6 separate regions of the Homo sapiens genome follow, and all the other regions are linked to region 4. Evidence: promoter capture Hi-C in 16 types of primary human blood cells and fetal thymus (Javierre and others, 2016). All regions are on one chromosome and are shown on one strand. The core of a region is centred on a gene start or on the middle of the fragment in contact, and the rest is flanking DNA. Distances in the headings are between cores, read along the strand shown. Region 1 holds the start of LOC124901585 (a long non-coding RNA gene). Region 2 overlaps ICA1 (islet cell autoantigen 1). Region 3 overlaps LOC105375138 (a long non-coding RNA gene). Region 4 holds the start of COL28A1 (collagen type XXVIII alpha 1 chain). Region 5 overlaps ICA1 (islet cell autoantigen 1). Region 6 overlaps ICA1-AS1 (ICA1 antisense RNA 1).

Evidence for each region. Contacts are between HindIII fragments. The CHiCAGO score rates a contact against its expected background, and 5 or more counts as called.
Region 1: a contact is called between a fragment that was not itself captured here and the fragment with the promoter of COL28A1 in region 4, in 1 of 17 cell types (megakaryocytes). The highest score is 7.6, in megakaryocytes.
Region 2: a contact is called between a fragment that was not itself captured here and the fragment with the promoter of COL28A1 in region 4, in 1 of 17 cell types (total B cells). The highest score is 5.1, in total B cells.
Region 3: a contact is called between a fragment that was not itself captured here and the fragment with the promoter of COL28A1 in region 4, in 10 of 17 cell types (total CD4 T cells, M1 macrophages, total B cells and 7 more). The highest score is 10.0, in total CD4 T cells.
Region 5: a contact is called between a fragment that was not itself captured here and the fragment with the promoter of COL28A1 in region 4, in 2 of 17 cell types (non-activated CD4 T cells and total CD8 T cells). The highest score is 7.7, in non-activated CD4 T cells.
Region 6: a contact is called between a fragment that was not itself captured here and the fragment with the promoter of COL28A1 in region 4, in 1 of 17 cell types (fetal thymus). The highest score is 5.9, in fetal thymus.

What each region holds. Positions count from the first base shown.
Region 1 is chr7:7,000,051-7,003,821 of GRCh38, reverse strand. The region is part of intron 1 of LOC105375138 (a long non-coding RNA gene); the gene reads right to left. LOC124901585 (a long non-coding RNA gene) reads left to right here and starts at 634. Exons shown (of 2, transcript XR_007060204.1): 1 at 634-711; 2 at 1,987-2,294. RefSeq lists an enhancer at 1,061-1,699. The HindIII fragment of the contact is 2,477 bases long and covers 1,097-3,573 here.
Region 2 is chr7:8,187,963-8,191,471 of GRCh38, reverse strand. The region is part of intron 6 of ICA1 (islet cell autoantigen 1); the gene reads left to right. Among named protein-coding and RNA genes, the nearest start is that of ICA1, 72 kb to the left of the region's middle. The HindIII fragment of the contact is 3,337 bases long and covers 401-3,509 here.
Region 3 is chr7:7,017,071-7,020,659 of GRCh38, reverse strand. The region is part of intron 1 of LOC105375138 (a long non-coding RNA gene); the gene reads right to left. Among named protein-coding and RNA genes, the nearest start is that of MIR3683, 48 kb to the left of the region's middle. The HindIII fragment of the contact is 532 bases long and covers 2,072-2,603 here.
Region 4 is chr7:7,533,889-7,537,897 of GRCh38, reverse strand. It overlaps COL28A1 (collagen type XXVIII alpha 1 chain), which reads left to right and starts at 2,025. Exons shown (of 35, transcript NM_001037763.3): 1 at 2,025-2,148. The HindIII fragment of the contact is 1,663 bases long and covers 591-2,253 here.
Region 5 is chr7:8,234,674-8,238,678 of GRCh38, reverse strand. ICA1 (islet cell autoantigen 1) reads left to right here. Exons shown (of 14, transcript NM_001136020.3): 2 at 2,674-2,769. The coding sequence starts at 2,753. Among named protein-coding and RNA genes, the nearest start is that of ICA1, 25 kb to the left of the region's middle. The HindIII fragment of the contact is 722 bases long and covers 1,681-2,402 here.
Region 6 is chr7:8,312,426-8,316,185 of GRCh38, reverse strand. The region is part of intron 3 of ICA1-AS1 (ICA1 antisense RNA 1); the gene reads right to left. Among named protein-coding and RNA genes, the nearest start is that of ICA1-AS1, 52 kb to the right of the region's middle. The HindIII fragment of the contact is 797 bases long and covers 1,713-2,509 here.

The DNA of each region.
Region 1 (3,771 bases), core at 1,086-3,585, 530 kb after region 4:
AGTTACAAAATGACTCCCAAGTCTCAGACACTTACAACCAGAAAAGTTTGTTTGCTCACTCCAGCTACATATTGATCATGGGTAGGCTGTGACCCTTCTCTACATAATTTTCATTCTGGGCCCTTGGTTGGGGGAGTCGCTCCTACCTGGAATACTGGCAGAGGAAAAAAAGTTGGTGTTGAGCTACATCGTGGTTCTTAAAATTTCTGCTCACAAGTAACACCTGTCACTTCTACTCACATTTCACTGGCAATAGCAAGTCACCTGGCTACACTGATATCAATGGGCTAGATATAGCATAATCCTCCCCCAGGGAGGGGCACTGCATATTTTTCAGCAATAATAGAACATACCAAAAGAGCATCCCTGTGGAGGCACACTCACTGTACCTGTCCTCCCGAGCCCTCTTATCCTTCTTCCACACACACTGTGCCAAACACAGAACCTGGATCCATTTCCCCCACGTCTTGACTCTGGCTCTCAGACTGCCCCATGTTATTGGAGGCTCTGCCCTCTCTGATGGTGCCAGTCCACATTCATGCTTGGGTTTTCCTCCTTTGCTGGACCACCATGATGCCCACTCATCTTTTCTTTTTCCCCTCATTAACTCTGATATTTGTCTGTTATTTTCAAGTTCACCCTCACAACATCCCAAGCCCTTCAGTACCTGCAGAAGATGAGCCTCCTGTTTTTTATGGAAAACAGGGGCCTGTAAGTATGAATTCTTCTAAAACTTGTAAACCCTTCTCTGCATTCCTTTTCTCCTCTCTGCTCTGCTTTTCTCCACAACACTTATTTATCATCATTGACATACTTAGCTTATAAATCTTGTATGTTGGTTAAAATTAGGTGTCAACTTGATTGGATTGACAGCTGCCTAGAGTATTGTTCCTGAGTGTGTTTGTGAGGGTGTTGCCAGAGGAGACTGACATTTGAGTTGGTGGACTGGGAAGGAAGACCCACCCTCAAGGTGGGTGGGCACCAGTCAATCAGCTGCCAGAGCAGCTAGAACAAAGCAGGCGGAGGAAGGTGGGATAGGCTTGCTAGTGGAGGCTTCTGCCAGAAGCCTTTTTTTCTTCTTCCCATGCAGGAAGCTTGCTTCCATTCCTCCTGACCTTGGATGTGGGAAAAAGAAAGAGAGATCAGATTGTTAATGTGTCTGTATACAAAGTAGACATAAGAGACTCCATTTTAATCTGTAACCCTACCCCCAAACCTGTGTTCCCTGAGACATGTGCTGTGTCAACAACTCAGGGTTAAATGGATTTAGGGTTATGCAGGATGTTCTTTGTTAAACAAATGCTTGAAGGCAGCATGCCTGTTAAGAGTCATCACCACTCCCTAATCTCAAGTACCCAGGGACACAAAACACTGCGGAAGGCCACAGGGACCTCTGCCTAGGAAAGCCAGGTATTGTCCAAGGTTTCTCCCCATGTGATAGTCTGAAATATGGCCTCGTGGGAAGAGAAAGACCTGACTGTCCCCCAGCCCGACACCCGTAAAGGGTCTGTGCTGAGGAGGATTAGTAAGAGGAAGGAACGCCTCTTTGCAGTTGAGACAAGAGGAAGGCATCTGTCTCCTTCCCGTCCCTGGGCAATGGAATGTCTCGGTGTAAAACCCGATTGTATATTCCATCTACTGAGATAGGTGAAAACCACCTTAGGGCTGGAGATGGGACCTGTGGACAGCAATACTGCTCTTTAAGGCATTGAGATGTTTATGTGTATGTATCTCTGAAGCACAGCACTTAATTCTTTACCTTGTTTATGATGCTGAGACCTTTGTTCACGTGTTTACCTGCTGTCCTTCTCTCCACTATTATCCTATGACCCTGCCACATCCCCCTCTCTGAGAAACACCCAATAATGATCAATAAATACTAAGGGAACTCAGAGGCCAGTGGGATCCTCCGTGTGCTGAACGCCGGTCCCCTGGGCTCCCTTTTTCTTTCTCTATACTTTGTCTCTGTGTCTCTTTCTTTTCCAGGTCTCTCGTTTCACCTAATTAAAACACCCACAGGTGTGGAGGGGCAACCCACCCCTTCACTTGGACATCAGACTCCAGGTTCTTCTGCCTTTGGACTCTGGGACTTGCACCAGCAGCTTCCCCGAGGCTCTCAGGCCCTGAGCCTGAGACTGAAGTTTGCACTGTGGGCTTCCCTGGTTTTGAGGCTTTTGGACTTGGACTGAGCCACCACCAGCTTCTCTCTTTCCCCAGCTTGCAGACAGCCTATTGTGGGACTTTGCCTTGTAATCCTGTGAACCGATTCTCTCTAATAAACTCCCTTTTTCATATACATGTATCCAATTGATTCTGTCCCTCTGGAGAACCCTAGTACAACTAATTTTTTCTCTGCTGCCCTTTACTCTTCTAGGCTTACCTAGACTACCACCATTCCTTCCCCCTTTCCTATTCTAAAGTAAAAGTTGTTTTTTCTCGCTTAATGCATGGTATTTTGCCCATTTCCCATGGCTTCCCTCAGTCCTGCTCTTGTTTATTCTTCTTGCTATCTTAAGAGGAAATTCCTGCCTCTTCCTTGGCTTTTCCCACTTGGTCTACGTACTGGTTTCTGTTGTTCTTAGAGACACACTGAGACGTTTCACATCTCACTGCCACTTCTTGGAAGGGCTCTCTCTACCTGGTCTGCCTGCTAAGCAACCTCTTGGGGAGACACGGGCACTCCTGAGTTATCGAACTTGAGCTGTTTGGTGTTGGCATGTTAATTTATCTTCTTACACCACTTACCACTTCCTTAACGTCAAAAGATAAGAATAATTATTATTTTCCATGGTTGATGTGAAGAGTACAAATAACTTATACAAAATGCATTGCAGTTAGGAGATAATAAATGGCAGTGAATGCCCTTATTAATGTTATTCTATCAGTCTCAGCTGAGGTACCATCTGCTCTGTGAGCTCGACTCTGAATCATATCTATTTCTTCCCGGGGTTCATTGTGCTCTATTCTTAAATGCTTTAAAACAGTAATTATTCTGATTCTAATTAGTGGTCCTTCCCAGTAAAATTTGAATTTTTTAGATCTCTTTCCCCCACCCCTGCCCCAGCCTTAGCAGTATTTTCTTATGTCTTTTTTGTGTGTACAGGCTAAATCACTGGTCTTCTTTTATTTGTGGCTAAAAAAATGTTTTGCTGGAAGAGTAAAGAGTTCCCATTTCCATGAGATCTATAGTTTTACAAAATGAATATATACATAATCCATGTAACTATTTCAATTTTAAAACAATTTTTAAATTTTTAGATAAAATTTAATTTGTGCCCATGTGTATGTGTGTGAGACCAGAGATGGGAGTGGGGGGAGAATCTCACTATGTTGAGCAGGCTGGTCTTGAACTCCTGGCCTCAAGCCACCCTCTTGCCTTGGCCTCCCAAAGTGCTGGAATTACAGGCGTGAACCATGCACCCAGACTCACTTTTTGTTTTAACAGATCCTAGAGTGAGAAAGCAAGTAGCATTGTGATAGAGTAGCTGGATAGGGAGCAGTTCCTGGAATCTGAAGAAAAGGAGGTGTGGAAAGGGTCAGTTGACAGAAGCTGTGGCCTTCAGGAGACAAGCTTTGAGGTAAGAGAGCTGGGGGGCTAAATGTCCTGTGGTCTCGCCCTGTCTCCACTTGCCTTGTGATATTCTATTATCCTGTTAAGTACTTGATGTCTGTCACCCACACCTATTCGTATACTGCCTCCCCTTTTGAAACTCCCTAATAAAAACTTGCTGGTTTTTGTGGCTTGTGGGGCATCACGGATCCTACCAATGT
Region 2 (3,509 bases), core at 820-3,319, 650 kb before region 4:
GCTTAATATTTCACAGTAATTTATTGAACACTGTACTGACAATGAAAAACAGAGTGGTTGTTTGCGTACTTGAAGTACAGTTTCTGCTGAATACATGTTGCTTTTGCATCTTGGCAAAGTCAAAAACTCTAAGTCAAACAATCATAAATCAAACCATGGCAAATCCAGGACTGTCTGTACAATATTACAATACTGTATTTATGTTGTAGCTATTGTGATATAATTAGAATTATGTGCCAGCATGATTCTTTGCAAATTCAGTGAGACCTGGTCAATGTCTTTCAGATAAATTACCTAAGACTAGATGATAGCAGGGACATTATACATCAAAATAGTGATTTCAGTTACTCTCGTATAAAGTGGAGGGCAGGAACGATGGACAGCTATCATCTTAAAAGCTTATTGGAGTCAGACGATGGTTCCTCACATCTGCTGACCTGTAACTATGGAATAAACAACTCTGATGACCATTTGTTCATTATCATACTGGAGTCATGTTCCTGAGGAATTCCAGGGCAGTAAAAATTTAGAAGCTAAATGTTTAACTTTCCAGAATGTTTAATTTTTCTGCACTAAGTCAAAGCAAGGCTCATGGAAGCAAACTTCCTTGTTCCCTAAACACTCAGCCCAGAAAAATTGAGAGATCACACATGTAACCGTGAACTTTGCACTGTTAGATTTATAAACTTCACAAACCAAAAATAGTTTCTGTTGTTGATCCAAAAACCTCCATTCTAATGACAAACTTATGGTGGCTAAAAACCTTTTAAATGTTAGATTGAGTTCCTGCTTTGTCCCTCTGCATGTGATTGAGCCAGGTTAAGTTGATTTGAACCTGAGAAAAGAAACACATTGCCTCTGTAGGGTTTTCTAAGCCATCTGAATTGGTACTAAACCATTTCTGTGAGGTGTTAGAATCCTGCAGGGGGCACCAGAACATTCCAATGCAGTTGAACACATTTCATTAAGTCCAGAAGAGCTAACTGTATTACCTTATTATAATTGATTTCTCTACTGTAACGTTTTCAGTTCCATTAATATTATTTTTTTGTACATTTACTTTTACAACATTTGTGAGTTTATGGAATGTTTCTGCCTCTCTGAGGAGGCAGAGGAAGGAAAGAGATCATCTCTTGGATGAGTCCTTAGAAACTACAGCCATGTCTCCTCTGGGTAAATATGAAAGGTTTCAGCCCACTCGGAGAGTAAGGACTTTCCAAATGTTCCTAATCTGACTGCGGAAAAAAAAAAAACTGGAAGAAACTGAGAATTCAATTTACTTTCTTAGCCTTAAGGCTGTGTATAAGCTACCCTGTTATTATCATTATTAATAATAAACACAGTGAATGTCAGACAGGCACTTCATGGTAGATTTTTATATGAATTTTGTGCAAAAGTAAAGGGTTGCCAGGCTACTGCATAATATTACTCAGTTCTGGTCCAGGAGTACAAAATTCCACCAGGCCTCCTGAGCCCGTCCCTCCAATTAGTGGCTTACTTCATTACGAATAAAGAACCCTCATTACTGTGGGCCTTCAAGTGAAATAGGATCCCCTACCTCTTGAAATCCGCCTTTCTAAGTACAGACAGTTCCCAACTTACAAACAATCCACTTAAGAACCACCAAGGCATTCAGAGGCTGCTGTAGGCTCCTGCAGCTGCTGCCTGGGCCCCCTGCCCAGCCCCCCTGCCCAGCCCCCTCCCCACACTCCTGGTCTGCTCAAGGGAGCGCTGCCTACCCCCCTTGCAGAGCCAGCTGCCCACCTGCCCCTCGGACTGCAGGCTCGGAGCTGGGGGTTCAGTGAGGCCTCAGAGCTACCGCTGGTTTTATAGTTGAGCTCAGCTATGGGGTAAATAGGCTTTTGTGGCCTGGCCTGGGAACCGAACCACCATTTAAAAAAAAGAAGAAGAAAAAACCTGCCTCCATGGGAAAATGTATTCTGCATTCCCAATAGCCAGCCAACAAATGTTAGAATGACTGTGGGGGCTGTCTTCTGTCTTCATGCCCCTAGCAGAGCGAGGAGGCGAAAGAATCCGCCTGTGTGTTCTGGGTTCTGGGTCCAGCTCTAGCACTAAACCCAACATAGGACCTTAGTAAGCCCTTTAACCTCTGTGTATCACATCATCTGTAAGACAATAGGATTGTACTAAATGAGTTATAAGCCTCCTTCTAGTATAATGACCCCAATTGATCAAAGCTCTACCCTCATTTTATTCATTCAGAGGCATTTTACTCAGGGCACATGCTTTGTGCAGGCTCTGGGCTTGGTGGGAATACAGTCAAATAATACAGATCCCAGCACTCACAGGGTGCAGTGTTTACTTGGGGAGACAGATCTTTAAGTGAATGTTCATAAGTGCTATGATTGCAATGGGCACTGGGTTCTGTAAAAGCTCAGGAGGGTCTGAATCAGATGAAGTCTTTGCAGAGGGGTTGGCTCGCGGGCTCACTCCCCTGATTTCTATTTTAATTGACTCCTCTCCCAGGGTATCAAATCTGGTTCACTGGGAAGCATAGCTTCTGCATCTACCATCCTAACAGTTTGGCATGGTCCCCTGGCCTCATCAAGGAAAGTCTTGCCCTCCTCTTTGCGTCACTGAAAGATAGAATACAGGGATGCTCCCACCAAACCATAGTCTTGATTCCTGTAAGTACTGCCCTGAATGCTTGCTTCTTCTCTGCCCTAGGGAGCCATGGCCAAAAAAGGTTCTCTCTTGCTCTCCTTGGGGCCTTCCCTGCCCTGAAGAGAGGCAGGATTGGCAGCAACTCTGGTACTCCCAAGTTTAAAATATTCCTTACCTCCCAAAATATTTCTGAAGTCCCAGCTACCTCTTGCTGTCCTATATTTATAATGCCCTAATTATAATTCTACCAAAAATCCCTTCTAGGCTTCCACCCTTACTCCACACTCACTTTTAAAATAGTAACAATCGAAGTGATTCAAAGAAGTCACCTGTCATTTGGAAGGTGGCATAACAGAGTGGTTCAGGTTGGAATCTTGACTCTGTGCCTTGATATCGGACATTATGAAATTATGTCGGTATGAAGGTTCCTGGGCAAGGAAGCGACCATGGAAGAGCAGTTTTGAGGAGAGTTAATTTTGGTAGCTCTGTGTAGGATGCTACAAGAATGGAGAGGAGGGAAAAGATGAGAGATTTTCAGCGTAGAAATGATGAAACTTAGAAACCAAATAAGTGTGTCATTATGCAATGTGAACTTATATAACTTTCCTGTACTCTCAAAGTATCTTATTTATTTTGGTTCTATGAAAGCAGTTTGATAATTATAACTGGAAAATCTTTTCTTTTCATATAAATAACAAAACACCCCAAGAAAACATTATCTAAGAGTTTTTCCAATCCCCATTCCATTATGTTCCCTTAGGATGCCTTTAGCGTAAGAAACAGCCTGGTGCCTTGGTGAGGAACTCAGTCTCTGCAGTGAGCATCTCCTGGGTTCAAACTGTGGCTTCCCCACTTCGTAGCAGTATAATCTCAGGCAGGTTTCT
Region 3 (3,589 bases), core at 1,088-3,587, 520 kb after region 4:
CTTCCAGGTTATCACCCAATCCTGATTCTCCGTCCCCCTGTCTCTGTGTGTTCTTAGTCTGTTTTGCCTGCTCCAGCTCTGCCTGCCCCTCCTGGGTTGGCATCCCCAAGGCCCTGTCTTTGATTCTCCTGTCTCACACACTTCAGGGTTATCAGCTTCCATCCTGGCTTCAATTCCTACTCTATTCATGACTCAATAACTTACGTAATAGTAACGGCATCTAACATTTACTGAGCAGTTAGCATAGTACTTGTGCCAGGCACTTTGCTAACTTTTGTACCTGCCTTGTCTCACCCAATTCATACCAAATACTCTTCTGAGAATTACCATCTTCATTCTAAAATGAAGAAGTGTATGCTCAGTAAGACCCCAAATTTTGTCTAATCCCGTGGCAGAACTTTGATTGAACCCATTGTCTATTTGACTTTGAAGCTGTTGTTATAACGACTATATTTCATTATCTTCTAAACCTCTAACTCAGATCTCCTTGGTTTTAGACTGACATCCAACTACCCACTGGATGTAGCTCAGGTACTTCTGCCTTAGTAGGTATTAAACTAAATTCATATTACTTGTCCCTCCTTTCAACCCCTTTTCTACCCTTCAATTGTCCCTATTTCAACACCTCCTTCTCTGATATTTCTTATTTCTTATCATGCTTTCTCCTTTAATCCACCCCTTAAGAACACTTTGGATTTTCTCTCTCCCTCATTGTAATTTCCGTTGGTCTCCAAGTCACCACAGAGGCGTCTCTGCATCCCAGCGCAGCCGGCATTCCCCTCTGCTTCCTAATTGACCTCTGGGCTGCTGAGTTCCCAACTGCAGTTGGTTCTCCCTACAGCTGTCAAGGTTAGCTTTTCAAAAAATCAATGTCATCATTCCACTCCACCTAAAAATCTCCAATGGGCCTTGTCACCTCCAGAGTCATTTGTGTTCTTAGAGGATTTCTTGTGTTCTTAGAGGATTTATAGAGACATAAATGGCCGTGCCTTCCTTGCCTGTCAGACACATCATGAACATATGTGAATAATTACATTTTAAGATATATGTAGATACTTCTTATGCTGAAGAAAACAAGTTTCAAAATCTTTACTAAATTTTAAATAAATTCATTAAATTAAAAATGAGTTATTCACCTGGTTTGGTGGCTCACATCTGGAATCCCAGCACTTTGAAAGACTGAGGCAGGAAGATTGCTTGAGCCCAGGAGTTCAAGACCAGCCTGGGCAATATGACAAAACCCTGTCTCTACAAAAAATACAAAAAATTAGCTGGGCGTGGTGGCACAGGCCTGTAGTCCCAGCTACTGGGGAAGCTGAGGTGGGAGGATCGCCTGAGCCTGGGATGTCAAGGCTGCAGTGAGCTGAGATCATGCCACCGCACTCCACCCTGGGTGACAGAGCAAGACCCTGTCTCAAAAAAAAGGAAAAAAGTAATCAATTATTTTTTCTCAATGGGTAACTTAATGCACAACGATTGTCTTATGAGTCTGCTCAATTTTTTGACATTAAAAAAGATACTCATTCATAACTACATACCGATTTGATTATTGTTATGTAAAAGCTCTCATTTTAACTAATACTCTTCGACATGTCTGTTTTCTGGCTGTGGACCTTGCAGCTAGGTCATGTTAATTCTGCATAATAAACTTTGGTAATGTATCAGTTACAGAGTGGAAATAGGTAATTGGTGTGGGGGAAGATTGGGATACTGACACTAGAGTCTTTTTGAAACTGGAATGGAATAAATTCCACATTCTAAAAAGCTCAATTAAAGTAATTAAAAATTCCCTGTGGTCTCTTATTAACTTCCAAAAGAGGCATTCAGGTGAAGCCTTAATATACAGTATAGTAATATACTACTATATGCATCTGGGACTAGACCTCAATATTCTAGTCTCCTAACCTGGCATTGTTAACATGGCTTGAAGGGGCCAGTAGGACCTCACGGCCTAGTTGGAGACTCATATCTCAACTCAGTTTCCAATCTTATAAGCTGGGACATCAGCTGTGAGAGAGGTGGAAGCTTCAAAAAAAAAGAATGTATTTTCCTAGGAACCACAAGAAAAGCTTCATCAAATCTTTTATAGTAAAAGCAGAACACTCTACGATTCTTACATTTTCCACTTCAACTAATCACTTAGTAATTCAACAGGTATTTATGTGGTAACAACTCAGCCAGGGAGTGTTTGAGTTGATCTGAAAAGTCAGAGTTTACAATCAAAAGGAGGAGGGAGAAATGAAATGTAGAGGAGGATAATAACAAGTAGTGATTACATCCCTAAAAGAAATACAAAAAAATCCAAAAGCATCTTCTCTTGGATAATAGCAAACTGGGAAAACTCCAAATAGTCAGAGATGAGGTTCTTTCTCCTACCCTGTGAAATGAAGAACCTAGTAAGAACATTTTTTTTTTTATTAAAATTCAGTCTTTTTTTTTCTCTCTGGCTCATAGATGTAGGTTTAATACTTCCCTTTATTTCTGCCACCTGATTCCCTTTCTCCCCGCATGTTTTCTTTTGACTGGTATGAGATGATATCTCATTGTGGTTTTGATTTTCGTATCTCTAATGGTTAGTAATGTTGAACATTTTTTTACAAGCTTGTTGGCTGCACCAATGTCTGTTTTTGAAGTGACTGTTCATGTTCTTTGCCCAATTTTTAATGGGGTTGTTTGCTCTTTGCTTGCAAATCTAGTAAGATTTTGCCTTAGGTGAAATCTTCCTGGAAGCAGCAAGCCCTTTCAGAAATGAGGTACTGCCCAGTCTACATTCATATGCCAGTTACAAGTGGACTTGGAGGTGGCGGGGAAGATGGGTTGTGGGGGAGGTGGGGTGGGTGGCAGGAGGTGTGAGGGGAGGAGGTCAGAGGGAAAGCTGAAGACAACCGAGCATTGGAGTGTTGTCTGCTGCACCCTGGCTGTTCCTATATAGCCTCTCTCCTCCAGATCTCATAGCACCCTGCTTCACTGAAGAGCCTCAGTCACCCCGGAAAGTTCATATCCCCACTGCCCACCTCCCATCAGGAAACAAAGGGATGCTGAGCTGTGCTTGGGGACCCTTTTTTTCTTTTAAAGAGTTTCACAACTACTTTATTTTATTTTCTAAACTTTTATTTTAGGTTCAGGGGCACATGTGCAGGTTTGTTAAATAGGTAAATTGCATGTTGCAATGGAGGGGTGGTTGGTGTACAAATTATTTCATCACCCGGGTAATGAGCATAGTACCTGATAGGTAGTTTTTCAATTCTCAACTTCCTCTCACCCTCCATCCTCAAGTAGGCCCCGATGTCTATAGTTCCCCTCTTTGTATCTATATGTACTCAACATTTAACTTCCACTTATAAATGAGAACGTGGGGTATTTGGTTTTCTGTTCCTGTCTGTTAGTTTGCTTAGGATAATGGCCTCCAGCTGCATCCATGTTGATCCATGTTGCTACAAAGGACATAGCTCATTATTTTTGTGGCTGCATAGTATTCCACTGTAAACATGTACCACATTATCTTTATACAGTCTATCACTGATGGACATTTAGGTGGATTCCATGTCTTTGCTATTGCAAATAGTGCTGCAATGAACATAGGTGTGCA
Region 4 (4,009 bases), core at 776-3,275:
TCAGCAAAAAGAGAGTTGACCTGAAAAGATGCTACTTCCTTGTCTCTTGATTCTCATCTTACAAAAGTAAAAAGTGTGACTAACACCCATAGGCTATCAGGTAAATACATGGTTGTTCCCTAGGAAATTCCGTTGTTATTTCTGCATTATACCCACCGTTTCTTCTTTCTGTTACCAAAGCCTCACAAAACTTCCTCAGTTCCTCGAAACCTGTTTTGTGAGGAGGAGACAGTGAAAACACAGACGTTCGCATAGATACTTAATGATGCAGTAGTTGTTATAAGTGAGGCTCACAGGTCTTACCAGCCTGAGTTAAAAGTTCATTTTGCCATTCTCTGGTTTTAGTATGACAGCGGACAAGTTACTGAACCTCTCTCTGCCTCCATCTTGGAAAAATTCGAATTCTTACAACATCTACTAAGTACAAGGGGTCCTGGAATAATATTTTGTTCAATGTCATTTTGTTATAACATTGATGAGAAAAAAAATTCAATTCCTGGGCCAGGCTCACTGTGTGGAGTTGACATGTTTTCCCCATGTCTGTGTGGGTTTTCTCCAGGTCCTGGAGTTTCCTCCCACATCCCAAAGCTTTGCCCATTAGATGCATTGGTGTGTCTACATGGTGCCTGTCTGAGAGAGTGGGTGGGTGTATGAGTGCCCTTTGACAGTACTGCATCCTGTCCAGGGCTGGTTCCTGCCTTGTATCCTCAGCTGCTGGGACAGGATCTGGTCAACCGTGACCCTGAACTGGAATATGCAGGTAAGCAGTTATCTTGTTTTTATCAATCTTTCATAAATGTATATATAGCTTAGATTTATTTCAATGTTTATTATTAGAGGTGTTTTGAGTATTTAGAGGTTTAGTGATGTTTTTGTGACTAGGAATATGCCATAAGAGCTTAACTCTTATTTATATCAATTAGCTCTTGGGAAAATTGTCTTCATTATCAATTGTTTCACTTTATGTCACAGTTTCCAGAACCTACAGAGGACATTAAGTGAGGACTTACTGTATATAGGTGGTTGTGCTTGTGAAGGATTAAATGAGGTAATGTGTGTGAAGCACTCAGGACAGTGCCTAGCACCTGGTAAGTGTCCATGAATTGGAGGCTATTATTGCTGTAATAAGGAAATTCATACACATTAAAATGGCTAAGAAAGTTCATTTTAAATAACCGTAACATGCACATTTGTATTGCTTTCTCGGATGATCTTGCTATTCTCTATTTCAGAGGAAGTCCGTGGAGAAGCCTGCCTGTTAGCTGTCTAGGGGTCAGGTGGCTTCTTGGCAGTATATATTACATGATAAACATTGACTTAATATGGACCATAACCACAAGGTAGAAAATAGGGAAACAGGGAGTGGAAAAACCACAGTGATCCTTTCCTAGAGAGAGACCAAAATATTAACCGCTGTAAACCTCTCATGTTACAGTTCGAACACATCTTAATAAATGATTAAATCTACTCTCTCATTTCATAAGTGGGGAACTGAAGCCCCCATAAAAGTTAGGGGCAGAACTATGACTATACTCAGACCACTCTTTCCCTGTATATTATATATACCTTTTATTATAAAAAATTTCAAAAATCACAGAAATACAAAGACTAGAACAATGCACACCTATGTACTCATCATCCAGCTTTAATAACAATCAAACTGTTACCTCTCTTAAAAAAACAGCTTTGATTCTGAGTCTGGTGTCATTTATACTCCTTCACAGAGATGTTCAGAACCAGTATCTTAGAGCACATCCCCCAGGCAAAGAAATGTAGCAATAAAAAGAGAAGGACATAGCATGAGAAAAAAAGGCAGGCTGTCAACCAATGCCTAAAATGTAGAAAGTTCTCTCAAGTTGTTTTTACAATAGTCTGGAAAACACAGTCTCATTCTGAAAGGACACTGTTCCTTTAAATTGCTTACTGATCCCACCCAGATCTTGCACCCTGGCCAAATGCCTGACCACTCTTGCTTTGACTTAGTCGAATAAACATGAACAAAAGACTGCAAAAGATCCTAAAGCAAAGACACTTTTATTTCCCACAGAACAGAACAATATCAAATAGCTAACTTCACCCCCAACCACAGTCCTTGCTGTTGGCATTTACTCAACTAGTCTTTAATTCCTGTTTGACAAACTTTATAAGGTAAGACATAACAGATTTATTTTAGTCACTTGAAATCAGATAGGACCATCAAGGAACTGTGGAAGACTAAATGACTTACTTACATAATTATTAGGTGAGAAAGCTTGTCAATAGTTTGTATTCTCTGCAATTACTTCAAATCAATTATTAGAAAAATATTAACATTGTTAAAATGTAGAAATTTAAAACTTAAAATTATTTTGAAATGGATTTTTAATTTACAGTCTTCTAAATTGTTTTACAACGATGTTAATATATTTTAGGACATCTTTTTCTTAATTTGGAACAGGGTTTACAATTCAGAATTAGTTATAGAATACTTTACAACTTGGCTAATTTGTCAATTTGAATAAAGTCTTTATTCAATCATTTTCTATTTGTGTAGAAACTGAGATGCAAACATTGTAACTAAAGTTGGTGAACTCTGATATAAGATCATTTTATTTTTGAAAAATTATAAAAAATAAAGTATCTTGGATTTATTTACTGATCCTGATATTTACCCCAAATAAATTTTAGGCCAAAAGTAAAACTACGGTATTTGATTAATAATTATGATTGTTTCTGCATTTATAAAATGTAACCTATAGTAAACACAGAGGTTCACATTTCTTTCACTTAACTAATGGCACTGTTTCCTCTGAAACCTATTTTGCTTGTACGTGACATCAGAAAGAGAGAAAGGTGAGAATTATTAAAAACAGAGGCAAAATAAAACATGGTAAAAAGTGATTAGAAATGAGTGGGCTCTCAAGATGCCAAATTAATAAACGAGAAAGATATTTCAGGGAAGCAGTAGAACTAACAAGCTAGAGAAACAAATCTAGAGAGGTATGAAAATGTCCTCTGGCTACAATAGGGAAACAGAAAGAAATAACAAGACTTTGGTTTGGGAGAGCTAGATTAACAATGTCAGAGCAAATAAGAACAAAATATGAGATACTGGGATTATTGTCAATGGAAAAGTTATGTTTGTGAATATCATATATACAGGGATCAGGTACAAATTCATGATTATATGCCAAGAAAACAGTAAGAGCAGGTGCTTAGTTTTGGGAAAAGATAAATCTTTATTTAAAGCCAGTATTTCTAAAACCTTACATGAAGGGTTTTGAAGAGTTGCTTGATTATGTTGCTTATAAAATCTTGCTCAGTTCTCAATGGAATTCAGTTCTCAGCCTCTTATTTCCAGAACTTCTGAGATGTTCCTTATGGTATGAACTCAACCAAAGAGAAAAGTCATATGTAATACCATGGCCATGGTGTTATTCCCTTTCCCCTTTGAAAATGCAATAACAACTGTGTTTTTCACATAGCCTTATCTTTACACTAACCTTCAGACTTAAAGTTGTACATCATTTATTTTTTTCCTTGGTTAGCAAAGGGACAACTTGAGGAGAGATGGCCTTTGTGTGTTCTGTTTCCTTAGCACATTTCTTGGTTTTGTTTTGTTTTTAATACCCAGCTGTCTTTACATTTTAGTATACCTTGTCTGAGGATCAGTTGGCATTTGGCCAATTGCTACACAAGATGTTTGGTCATACCTATCCAAAGTTCTTTTAATACACTTCCAGCTGGATGATGCTATGTGAGGAGCAGACTGTGGCATGAAGCCATCCATTGGTCCTCTCCTAACCCAACAGTTTTGTTTCCCTTTGGGGTTTATCCATCTGGCATGTATGAAAAAAGTCAGTCTCCATCTCACTCCTCACTGCCTTTGCATATATTTCCACTCTCTACTCAGAGTCTGGAAAAATCGTGCTCATGATTTCCCAGATTCTTATCCCCTAAAGGCAAGGTGCCAAAGAAGGAAAATGTGATTCCTTTTCCAGAACTCCTGAAGTCAATAAAGTTTCAGCAG
Region 5 (4,005 bases), core at 792-3,291, 700 kb before region 4:
TTTAAATTAAAAGGCATTTTAATAAGCAAAAATTAATTAAAAAGTCATAGTAAAGGAAATAGTCAACAGAGTGAAAAGCTAACCTACAGAATATGAGAAAATATTTGCAAACCATATATTGGATAAGGGATCAATATCTGGAATATATAGAGAACTCCTGCAATAACTCCTGCAAATTAAGTTGGGTCAATAACAAAATGACCCAATTTAAAAATGGGCAAAAGACCTGCATAGACATTTCTCCAAAGAAAATATACAAATGGCAAAAAAATATGAAAAGATGCACAACATCACTAATCAGAGAACTGTAAACCAAAACCATGAGATATCACCTCACAATGCTTCGGATGGCTATTATTTTTAAAAATGGAAACAAACATTAACAAGGATGTGGAGAAAGTGGGACCCTTGCATACCATCAGTGGGCTTGAAATGGTGCAGCTGCTGTGGAAAACAATAGGCAGTTTCCTCAAAAAATTAAGTAGAGAACTGTATAATCCAGCAGTCCAAATTCTGTGTATTTGTGCAAAAGAATTGAATACAGGATCTCAGAGAGATACATTAAGACCTCATTTAATGTCATTGATAGTTCTTGGAAACTGCAACTTTAGGCAAAACGACATAAGCCATTTTTTTCTTATCAATATTATTATGAAACAGTGTTATTCTGGACCTGTGTATATCACTTTGCCTATAGTTGCAGCTTCCAAGAACCTGTCAATGAATTTGACACTGTATACTGTGTTTATTGCAGCATTATTCCCAATAGCCAAGATGTGAAAGCAACCTAAATATCCATTGACACATGAATGGTTAAAGAAAATGGTGTGTGTGTGTGTGTGTGTGTGTGTGTGTGTGTCTGTCTTCAACATTGCATATACAATGCAATATCATTCAGCCTTAAAAAGGAAGTCCTGTCATATACTACAACACAGATGAACCTTAAATGCATTATGCTAAGTGAAATAAGCCAATCACAAGAACACAAATACTGAGTGTTTGCATTTTTATGAGGTATCTAAAGTAGTCAAATTCATAGAATCAGAAACTAGAATAGTGGTTGCTGGGGGCTGTGGGAGGGGAAAATGGGGAGTTGTTCAATGGGTGTAGAATTTCCATCATGCAAGATGAAAAAGTTCTAGAGATCTGTTGTACAACAAAGTGTATATTGTTAGCACTACTATACTGTACACTTTTAAATTAAAAGAATAAACTTTTTTACCATAATAAAAATATTAATCAAAAAGTACCAACTATCCTAATAGTTCATGGTGACATTGAACTCAAGAGAAGAATATGATAATTCCATTTCCTTTGAACACCCTCTTTTTATGAAAAAATTTGTTGGAAATTTCAAGCTAACTAAAGTAAATGTGTACTTACAGTGAAGCTGTCTGGGTGGTGAGAGGACTGGGTGTTGGTAGCCTCTCCATGATGCACTGAGTGGAGGGCAGAGCTTACTTACTTACCCTGAATGTCATTCCCAAAAGCAGCTCGTCCAGATATTTGGATGCTCTCCACAAGGAAGAGAGATGTTCACTGCAGGATGCTGTCATATCAGAGGCATCTGACACTCTGGAAATTCTCTTCTTCCTCTCTCTTGTCTGCATACCTGAAGCGTGGGATTTGCACATCGTAATTTTGTCCCCTTGAAATGTTTTTAAATAGCCTAGGAAAGCTTTAATCACTTTAGGAGTACTGGTTGCCAGGATCCTTTCTGAGACCAAAGGAGAATGATTGGATTGATTTTGTGAAGCAGTCTGGGCATTCATATGCTGTGAGCACTCACTCTGGCAGCTAGAGGTTTTGCCTCTGGCCAGTGACCATTCCTTTGAGTAGTGAGCTTTCTGTTCTTTCCAGTAACTGCTGGCAAGTGGGCTAATGTGGCTGGGCTGGTGGGCCCTGGGGTGGGCTAGCTTCCATGAGTGGAGCAAATGGAGTAAGGGCAGAGACATTGACTCCAGTATTTACTAACGAGATAAATATACAAGGCTAGGCTGGTAGATACCTATTTTCCACCTTTGTGCCCTTCTTGCTATCTTATTCAAGCATATCAACCCTTTTTTGGTTTTTATTTGGGGTTTTAAAATTTTGTTCTATTTTTGTTTCTATTTTTGCAATGTGCTGGTTTGTTTCTTTAAAAATGTTGATTATAAAATATTTCAAATCTGTAAGGAGGCATACAGATGCAATATATTCACCACCTAGCTTCACAAAGAGAACACTATGTGTGCACTTGAAGCTGCTGTATATCTCTCTCACATCACATCCCACACCATCTCCTGCCGTGGTCTGCTGTCTGGAACTTAGTGTTCATCATTCCTAAGCAATTCTTTATACCTTCACCTTATAATATTGTATACCTCAACAACATATAGTATTGTTTTACATATTTTTAAGCTTTATATAAATGATATTATATTTTATGTAGTCTTCTGCAACCTGCTTTTTCATTCAATCTGCCTGTTCACTTTTTAAACTTTATTTGGAATATTTCTTCCAGTGTTACTTAGCTATATTGTTGTCATCACCAGTGTGCAGCATTACTGTGTAACAGTGTTAGACCCTAAAATACAGCTAGAAATGGCTTAGGTTGAAGGCTTTTATGTGTGTCACATTAATATGTAACTATAATATGGTGTGTAACTATTAAACATATTTGTTTTATTTCAGGTTATAATATAACTTATCCTCTCATGCTTTTTTCCTGCCCCTTCTCCCCAAATCATCAACAATAGAAGAAGAAGAAAACATGTCAGGACACAAATGGTAAGTAATTTGTCATCTTTTCTGAATTGGGAAAGTAGAAAGCATATAGCATATGATCAATAAACATCTATTGAATGGAAAAACAAGAGATACATTGGCAGTAAGTATCATGTTAGCCCTCACCAATGCTGAGCCAAATTCAGTATCTCTGTTAAATATGGTGTGAAAACCAAGTAACAAAAATATTGTAAATTCTTACCTAATGTGCATTCTCTAAGAAATTCATTTATGTGTAACTTTTCTCTTGGGAACCTACTGATAGTTTTTCTTACCACCATTTTGTCTAATGTAATGAGTTGATGCGTTTTTATTACTATCTTATTTATAACTTCTAACATTAGAGTTACAAGGGAATTTTATGTTAGGGTAGCTATAAAATAAAGAATGATTCTACAACCACACACGACTCGTGCTTATTAATTTAGAGTCATGACTTCAACCTTCCTGAACATTCAGGAGCCAATTATTGTCAAAAGTAAATGATGCTGAATAAAGTAGATGTGGTAACCATTTGGCAATGTTAGCGCTGACATTTATGTGCCTATAACATATCTGAGCAGCATGTTAAACCTCTTGTAAGGTCCAGAGCTCTTCAAGCAGTGTTTCCAAATTCTTTTGAACCCATGACCCACCAAGCAAGCAGATCTTTGTGAACTTTTATTTTCTTTAATTTGTATCATGAAAAACAAATGTGTTACATATTTTTCAAATGCACAATTAATTATAATAATACATTTTTTTTTTTTGAGATGGAGTCTCACTCTGTCACCCAGGCTGGAGTTCAGTGGTGCAATCTCAGCTCACTGCAACCTCCGCCTCCCTGGTTCAAGTGATTCTCCTGCCTCAGCCTCCCGAGTAGCTGGGATTACAGGCATGTGCCACCACGCCTGGCTAATTTTTGTATTTTTAGTACAGACGGGGTTTCACCATGTTGGCCAGGATGGTCTCGATCTCTTGACCTCATGATCTGCCCACCTCAGCCTCCCAAAGTGCTGGGATTACAGGCATGAGCCACCGCGCCCGGCCAAAGAAATCCATTCTATGGCCCACTCTTGAGAATGCCATTCCCCTAAAATAATCAGTCTTTGGAGTGTATCCTTCCAACCTTTTAATGTGCATATTCTATAGAGAGATTATCTTTTACATAAGTTTTATACATTATCTTATTTTCTCTGATATGAGCTCATAATACGACTTTTAAATAATGCAGAAAGATATAAAGTAGACCATGAAAGT
Region 6 (3,760 bases), core at 862-3,361, 780 kb before region 4:
GGAAGAGTACTATAGTCACAGATGCAGGAGCTGGATACCTCTTCTTCACAGGTGGACCAGGAGAGGTGTGGCCTGAAAGCCACACAGTATCTGTCTCTGTCAGGAAGGCTTGTGGCCTGGGGAAGTTTTGAGTTCTGAGTGCAGGCTGCCTAAAACCCAGCTAGCTGCTCCTAAAAGAACACTGTGGGTGCGAGACCTGCCTTGCCAACGGTGTGGGAGTGGAGTGAAGCTTACTGCCACCTGCTACCTGCCCATTCCCCATGCAGATTTTTTTGTGCAGCAGAGGCAGCTGCACTCCTCCCTGGAACATTACCCCAATGGCCAGGGAACTGCTCTTCAATCTCCACATAGGGACCCAGAGCACAAACTTACCTGACCCAGCCCACACCCAGATTTGTCCTTCCACCTGCCCTGGTAGCCTAACACAACAGAATAAGACATTTGGGAGCTCCATGGCACCACCCATTACCTGAGACATCAGAATACCTCTCCTGGATAACATAAACCAAGCACAAATTCTACTGCTACCATCAAGCTGGTGCTCTTTTGCAAGCACCGCCTTCTGGCTGGTGGTCAACCAGCACAGCCCATGACAGCAGCTACAGGCACAATAACACAGCAATCAGAAAGGAGAAAACTTTTGCATGGCCTCATCTATCCTCACTGCCTGCATCACTCTCGCTAACCAGGAAGGCTTGAGTTTGTCCGTGTGCCTAGTAAGTTAGGACTACAGCTGGCATTTGAAAAACTCAACACACTAAAGCCATTTATAACCAAGGAAATCTCACAGTTTACATCACTCCCCTCCCACCACTACCAGAGCTGGTGCTGGTATTTGCTGCTTAGAGACTAGAGGATAAGTCACATCACTGGAGCCTAGAGTGTGGCAGCCCCACTGGGCAGCTAGACCCAGAGGAGCAAAAGGATTCACAGTACTCTGGTCCTCAGGGACTGCTACACTTAGGGGAAGAGGGAGTGTATCACATTAAGGGAGCATGGGACAAAAGATACTGGACTGCAAGCCTTCAGTCCCTGAACTTTCCACCTGTGGGATGTTTTCTTCAGCAGAGGCACAGGTGCAATGCTGGGCTCAGTGGGGAAACTCTGCAGCTCTACTCCAGTAGTCAGGTAGCCCTGGTGCTTGTGAAGGGTCTTGGAGAGGGGACTCCTCCCTTTTACTCACCACTGTAGACACAACTAGGGCTTCTCCCATGGAATCCCAGCATGAGTGCATCTGTAGGCAGCCTTTCTGGAACTTCAGGGTGACTGTATCCCCAGAGAAGGAATGCCCTCCAGGTTCAGGCTTGCATGAGAGGTAGAGTCACAATCTCTCTCTAAATGAAGCATCAGCATTCTTGCAGATAAAAAGAGATGCCTGTCTGATCTGTATAGCCAGAACACCAGGTCAGGAGTATGACTGGAAGGCAGATTGCTTTCCTGCTGGTCTGGAAGGAAAGCTGTGGTGGCTCCCTCCCCTCCCTCTGAAAAGACTTCAGTGCATTTTTACTGAGAGTTCACCCAACCACCTCTGTCAAAGCTGGGACGTCTGCCCAATATTAGGGTATTGCATTTACCCACCTGCTTTAGCCAAAGCCAGTTTTTCCCCATGAGCATCTCCTACTGGCCCGAAGCCTGAACCATTTAACCCAGTGAATAAAATCCTGGGAGGAAAGCTTTTTTAAAGTGCACGCCACTGGAAAATGAGATAAGCTTCATGAGACCTCTGCATTCCAGCCCCACAGAAAACAGAAAACCTGCTCCCATACCCAGCACATCATTACTAATCTAGTGAACTTGTTTTCTTCATTGTGCTCTCGCTTTATAGGCTGTGTGATTTTTATGCTTTGAGGAGTGTCTATTCTGATGCATACTGACCTTTGTCTCAAGATTTAGAACTCCTTTTAACATCTCTTATAGGGCTGGTAAGACCATCAGCATCTGAGAAAGCCATCGCACAAAGATTCCCTATAATAAAATAATTCATACAGAGGCTTTAACACTCAAAGCACCCACAGCCAAAGCTAGGTAACAATAAACTATAAACATTAAAGTCACATCTTCAAGAAGAAATAAATGAAATTTTAAAAAACCATTGAATCAAAAATAAATTCAAAAATAATTAGAAGAAATAGTCTACCTAAATGAGAAGGAACCAGAAAAGCAATTCTAGCAATATGAAAAAACAGGGTTCTTTAACAGCCCCAAAATATCACACCAACTTTCCAGCATTGGATCCAAACCAAGATAAAATCTTTGAAATACCAGATAAGGAATTCAAAAGGTTGATTACTAAGTTACTCAAGGAGATACAAGAGAAAGGTGAAACCCAACGTACAGAAATGTAATAAACAATTCAGGATATGAATAAAAAATTTTCTAAAGAGATAGATATTTTAAAGAAAAGCCAATCAGAACTTCCAGAAATGAAAGACACATTTAAGGAACTACAAAATACTGTCGAAAGTTTTAACAATAGAGTCAACCAATTAGGAGAAAGAATTTCAAAGCTTAAACACAAGGTATTTGAAGTAATCCAACAAGACAAAAATAGCAAAAAAAGAATGCAACAAAATAAAAGAAGTCTCCAAGAAATATGGGATTATGTAAAACTGCCAAACATAAGAATTCTGTGTTCCTGATGGAGAAGAAAAAGCAAAAAGTTTGGAAAACCTATTTGAGGGAATAACTAAGGAAAACTTCCCTGGTCTTGCTAGAGACTTAGACATCCAAATTCAAGAAGCTCAAATAATTCCTGGGAGACTGATTGCAAAAAGTACATCAAGAAGGTATCTGGTCATCAGGGTATCTAAAGTCAACGTAAAGGAAAGAATTCCAGGAGCAGTGAAACAAATGCATCAGGTAACCTGTAAAGGAAAACCTATCAGACTAACAGCAGACTTTGCAGCAGAAACTTTACAAGCCAGAAGGGATTGGGGTCTTATCTTTAGTCCCTTTAAACAGAATAACTCTCAGCCAAAAATTTTGTATCTAGCAAAACTAAGTTTCATAAATGAAAGAGAAATAAAATCTTTCTCAGACAAGCAAATGCTAAGGGAGTTTGTCAATACTAAACCAGCCCTACAAGAAATGCTAAAAGGAGTTCTAAATCTTGAGACAAAAGGTCAATACACATCAGAATAGAAACTCTTCAAAGCATAAAATTCACAGGGCTTATAAAACAAGAACACAATGAAGAAAACAACTTCACTAAGTAACAATCAACACGATGATTGGAACAGTACTTCACATCTCAATATTAATGTTGAATGTAAATGTTCTAAATTCTCCACTTAAAAGATACAGATCGTGGAAGACAGTGTGGCGATTCCTCAAAGACCTGAAGACAGAAATACCATTTAACCCAGCAATCTCATTACTGGACATATACCCACAGGAATATAAATTGTTCTATTGTAAAGACATATGCAAGCATATGTTTATTCCAGCACTATTCACAATGGCAAACACATGGAATCAACGTAAATGCCCATCAGTGATAGACTGGATAAACAAAATGTGGTACATATACACCATGGAATACAATGCAGTCATAAAAAAGAACAAGATGATGTCCTTTGCAGGGACATGGAGGGAGCTGGAGGCCAATATCCTTAGCAAACTAACACAGGAACAGAAAACTAAATAGAGCATGTTCTCACTTATAAGTGAGATCTAAATGATGAGAACACATGGACACATAGAGGGGAACAACACACACAGGGATCTATAGGAGGTTGGAAGGTGGGAGGAGGGAAAGGAT